Regions from separate parts of the Homo sapiens genome. Here region 1 is linked to region 2. The links are contacts of gene promoters, found by promoter capture Hi-C in human tissues and cell types (Jung and others, 2019). All regions are on one chromosome and are shown on one strand. Each heading gives the region's core, a stretch centred on a gene start or on the middle of the fragment in contact. The rest is flanking DNA. Distances are from core to core; before and after follow the strand shown.

Evidence for each region. The method cuts DNA at HindIII sites, captures the fragments that hold promoters and counts their contacts. A contact is called where the count stands out against the background at its distance.
Region 1: a contact is called between a fragment that was not itself captured here and the fragment with the promoter of CMKLR1 in region 2, in 1 of the 25 tissues and cell types used here (H1 embryonic stem cells).

What each region holds. Positions count from the first base shown.
Region 1 is chr12:108,500,153-108,502,852 of GRCh38, forward strand. No RefSeq gene overlaps it. Among named protein-coding and RNA genes, the nearest start is that of FICD, 14 kb to the right of the region's middle. The HindIII fragment of the contact is 6,085 bases long and covers 1-2,700 here.
Region 2 is chr12:108,337,889-108,340,588 of GRCh38, forward strand. It overlaps CMKLR1 (chemerin chemokine-like receptor 1), which reads right to left and starts at 1,423. Exons shown (of 4, transcript NM_001142343.2): 1 at 1,139-1,423. RefSeq lists an enhancer at 856-1,479 and a silencer at 1,587-1,706. The HindIII fragment of the contact is 8,294 bases long and covers 1-2,700 here.

The DNA.
Region 1 (2,700 bases), core at 6-2,505, 160 kb after region 2:
GCCCCAAGGACAACACTGGGAAAGAGAGTGCCACCTTTTCTTCCAGTCACAGGGAAGACAACTGAACTATCCTCATGCTGCAGGCCAAAGAGATGCCTCCCATTTTCTGAACCTCTCACCTGGGAAGTAACCCATATTTTATTTAATCCTAGACCCAGATGTGCCAGAAATGATCAGAATTCCCAAGTGTCAGAGCTCCCTCCAAAGCCACCCCTTGCAGCATCTCAACCCTCTCCCAAAAATGGTTATCTGACCTGGAGCTGAGGACCCAGAGAGAGCTTGAGGGTCCCACTCTTCCTCCTCTGGCAGAGCCCACCGCAGGAGTGAGCCGTGGCTGGGCAGGGTGGGGCGGTAGACTCAGAGGTCTTTGCTCTGGGATCTGCAGAACATTTAGGGAGGCATCAGCTGCTGCTCCGCTTCCAAATAAAGCCCAGGTGCTTTTTCAAGCCTCTCTGAACCAGCACTTCTCAAACTTCATGTCAGCATTTCTTGAAGAGTTCCCAGGCCACAGATTCCTTGGGGTAGAAGAGAGGTAGAGGGAGAGACACTCATTTGGAACACCTTTTTGTATACCTCTGACTCCTAGAGTTATGGAAATATTTCACATGCCCAGAAAATCAATCAATAAATAATTAAAATCAACCAAGATGTGGGGGCTTCCCAAAGCGTGGTCTGTGGACCAGCAACTTCATTGGCCTCACCTGGGAGCTCGAACCCCTGGCCTTCATTTAAATTAATTAAATTTAGCCAGGCGTGGTGGTACACACCTATAGTCCTAGCTACTCAGGAGGCTGAGGCATGAGAATCACTGGAACCTGGGAGGCAGAGATTGCAGTGAGCTGTGATCGCACCACTGGGTGATCCAGCCTGGGCAACAGAGTGGGACTCTGCCTCAAAAAAAAAGAGCAAGAACTTTTTCTTTTGAAAAATTTAGACTCAAAAATTGAATACCTGGAGTTTTTCTGTGTCCTTTACCCAACGTTCCCTAATGTTGATATCTTGCATAACAACACAACAACTATCTAAACCAAGAAATGAACATTGGTGAATCTGTGGACATTCAAATTTCATCAGTTTTTTCCATTAATGAACACTTAATAAAAAAAACTAAATTTTTTTGACCATTTGCTGGTCCAGGATCCAATCCAGGATTCCACATTGCATGTAACTCTCCTACAGGACCATAATACAACCATCAAAATCAAGCAACGAACACTGATCTACTACCATGTTCTCCCCAGACCCCATTTAAGTTTCACCAATTGTTTTAATAAAGTTCTCTCTAGTAAAAGAATACAATTCAGAATCAGCCAAATACTTCATTGTCATATTTCCTCAGTGTCGTCCAATATGTAATAGTTTTGTCTTTTATGATCTCGATAACTTTTGAAAAGTACTGGCCTTTATTTTCTAGAATTTCATTCAACTTGAATTTGTCTGATGTTTTCTCATATTTAGCTTGAGTCACTGCACACCCAACATCAGAGACCAGTAAGCCACCAGCTGCCACGTGTTGAGCTGTATGTGTAGCAAAATCAGTTGTTTGCTGCCAAACCTATTTATGCCAGTTTCATTTGTAACTAGTTAAGTAGTATGTAGTAGGATTAAATAGGAGGGAAAGGCCAGGCACAGTGGCTCATGCCTGTAATCCCAGCACTGTGAGAGGCCAAGGTGGGAGGATCGCTTGAGCTCAGGAGTTTGAGACCAGCCTGGGCAACATGGTGAAACACTATCTCTACAAAAAATGCAAAAATTAGCCAGCATGGTGGTTCATGCCTGTGGTCCCAGGTTATCAGGAGGATGGCTGGAGCTCTAGAGGTCAAGGCTACAGTGAGCTGTGATTGCACCACTGCACTCCAGCCTGAGCAACAGAGTGAGACCCTGTCTAAAAAAAAGAAGGGAAAAAGAAAAGTTGTTTCTGTGAAAACTAAGTTAAGTGTTTCGAATAGCCCTGAGAAAAGCAAGCTTCTAAATAGAAATTGATGAAGAATTAGTTGTAAGATAAAGATGGAGGGGGAGGAAAATTATAAAAATCTGGAAGGGTTCTGTATGCTGCTTAGCCAGTGTCTTTAAATTCTCATTAAATTCAAAATGAACCAAAAAAGGAAATCACCTGATTCATGCAGGGAAGACAATGTGAGACTTCACCCAATTAACTCATTTGTTAATCAACCATTAACCCAATATTAATATTAGTATTCACAGTACAAATTAGTATACAGAATACTAGTATGTGTAAGTTAAAAGATAAGATAAAATATTCATAATGTAAGGTTTTCTGTTTCTCTATCCTAACCCACTTTTTCAACTAAGCCTCAACACCAGTCAATGGTCAAATGATATTAGGCTGACCTCTCAGCTACACACAAGAACATATTAAAATGGAGCACTGACCAGGCGCAATGGTTCACACCTGTAATCCCAGCATATTGGGAGGCCAAAGCAGGTGGATTGCTTGAGTTCAGGAGTATGAGACCAGCCTGGGCAACATGGCAAAACATCATCCCTATAAAAAAAAAAATACAAAAATTAGCCAGGCATGGTGATGCGTGCCTGTGGTCCCAGCTACTCAGGAAGCTGAGGTGGGAGGATTGCTGGAGCCCAGTGGGTAGAGGCTGCAGTGAGCTGAGATCACACTACTGCACTCCAGCCTGGGCAACAGAGTGAGACCTTGTCTCAAAAGAAAAAAAAAAAGTGAGT
Region 2 (2,700 bases), core at 173-2,672:
CTTACCTTCAAACCAGTTTGGAAGGGGCAGGAGATACAGCAAGAACCACAGAGAAGATTGGTCTTGAGAAGGAGGTAGGGGATGCAAAAGGGAAGTTGAGGGCTTTCCCTAATAGAAAAAGAAAGACTCAGAACCTGGACGTTCAGGCGTGTGACCTCAGACCAGTGATCTGGCATCTCTGAACCGCACAGGTCTGAGTGATTGGGCTTATATCAAGTAGTAGTTCCCTGATGTTGTAATGCTTATAATTTTGCCAAAGCTGGCTTGCCCATTTAAAATGGGCTATTCTGAAGACAGAGGAGGGAGTGGAATATTTTCAACAGAGAGTGCCGGCAAAGGTTTTGTGTCCTTTATATACAAAGAACCCTTAGATATCAATTGGAAAAAGATAAACATGCCCCCAGAGGAGAAAAAAATGGGAACAGACTTGAACAGGAGAGTCAGACTAGAAATGTGAAAAATAAGTTTATAAAAGAGAATCAACACTAACAAAGAAATGAAATGCCTATTGAAGCATCTAGATATTATTCTCGACTTCACATCAGGGAAAGTTTAAGGGATGGGTAGCAACAAGGTGGGTTTAGTATGTGAGAATACTGTGCCCTGGTATAACATCGTAGAGAGGTCAAGCTGCCACGGCCTTCCAGGGTGCAGTGTGACCAAAAGCTCAGAAGTCTTAAAAATAGGCAAACCTTAAATCTAGCAATTTCTAAAAGGTATTCATAAGACACACACACAAAGATGTCATACTAAATATTCATTGCAGCACTGTTCTAATAAAAAAAAAGAAGCAAATCTATTATGGAAAAGTCAAATAATCTTAAGATAGCCTTTCTATGCAGCCATGAAAAATGTATATTGGAAGAATATAGGTGATATGGAAAAAAGTTCACAATCTGTGGTTAAGCAGGTTACCAAACTAGATGTGGAAATCCACATTCATATATTTAGTTGTGTATCCTTGCTATTTCTTTAAACAATGAACATGCATTACTTTTGACATCTGAAAATAATAACAAAACTCTTCCTTTTAACAAATATGAAATTATAAAAAGAAACAAACTTTTCTCTCTGTTAGTATTCATTCCCCTTCCCTGGCCCCCCTCAGAAGACACCCAAGGCAAGTGTGTGATGATACCTTCCCTCTGGTCTCTGCCCGGAAGGTCTTCCTGAGGGTTCCCTGTGACTGCAGGCCACTCGAGGCTGTTGGGGAGACTTGCACACCCTGGCTTCTTTCTGCCAATCACAGGCTCCTCTGGCTGTGGCTGTTTGCCCAGAAAGCAGTTCATTCATTTGTTCATTCAAGATCCCCCTCTGAACCCCCAGAGCGCCGCAGCTGGAACACCCCTATCACCCGGAGGCTTCCCAGGGAGCCTGCTCTGTCCTGAGCTCCCTGCTGGCCGCCGGGGCTGCTTCCCTGAATGGGACTGGGACAGAACTCAGCCAGAGAAACAGCTGGAGGGAGGAGAGCAGGAGGGAGGGGCAGGAAACTGGGCTGACCTAGGGCGGGGGCGGCTAGCTGCGTGGAGAGGGGGCTGCGAGGGGAGGGTGCCCCTACCAGCCGGGGACTGGGCTTGTGGGTGGCGGCGGGGGCCCGCTGGGGACGACCCGCCCCTCTGGCAGCCTCTTGCAGCCGGGGAGCCGTGCCCACTGAGCGCAAACAGGGAGCACATCTGAGCACCCGGCTGCTGGGGGAAGTGCAAGCGCCTCTGCTCCCGGTGAGGGGCTCAAGCTCCACACTGACCGAGAGATTGGCTGCCTCTCACCCTGGGCCTTTGCAACGCTGTTCCTCCCACCTGGATGCTATTCCTGCCCTAATTCGTGGCCCGATGGTCTCCTACTGCCTCTTCAGGTCTCAGGTTGAAGGTCACCTCCCAGGGAAGCCTTCCCCAACCCTCGGGGGCTGCTGTGCCCCTCAGGGTCACCCCATCACCTCACTGATGCAGTGCTGTCCTTGCCTGTTAAGATGTCTCTCTCCTTGCACCGAGAACTCCTTGCACCAGGAACTCTGTAGGGAAAGAACTGTATTCTGTTCCCTGCCCTAACCAGGCGCTAAGTGCCTGGTTCATCGGCTGTGTGGTCACCATCATTAGTGGAATAATCAAAACAACCGACAGCCAGGCAGCGTGCTAGGCGATGCGTACTTACTCTTCACGGCAACCCTAGATAACAGGAATTATTACTACTCCAGTCTTACCAATAAGGAAACTGGGGTACAGAGAGATTAAGTCACTTGCTCAAGACCACACCGCCAGCAGCTGACAGAGCTGGGATTCCAACTATGTTGTCTGGCTCGGAGGCCCACCCTTGGCCTCCAGACTGAAGAAATAACAGAAGTGCCCATGTGGGCCCCTGTGCCAAGTGCTTCCATGGAGTAAGCCGTGTGAACCACCACCCACGTCGGGGGGGCATCACTTGCCCATTCTACACATGAGGATGCTAGGGCCACAGAGCAGAAGTCGTTTTGCCCAGGGCGCCAAGCTCATGCTGACCGAGCCATGGCTGGATCTGAGTCTGTCTGATTCCAAAGCCAAGACTGCCTACGACTGCCTAAAATAATATTTTTAGAAAGAAAAAGAAAAGGGAAGGGCAGGGGAGGGGAAGAGAGGGGAAGGGAGGAGAAGAAAGAAAGGAAGAAAAGGGAGGGCAGGGAGGAAGGTAATGGGGAGGAGGGGAAGGTGAAGGGAGAGGGAGATGGGG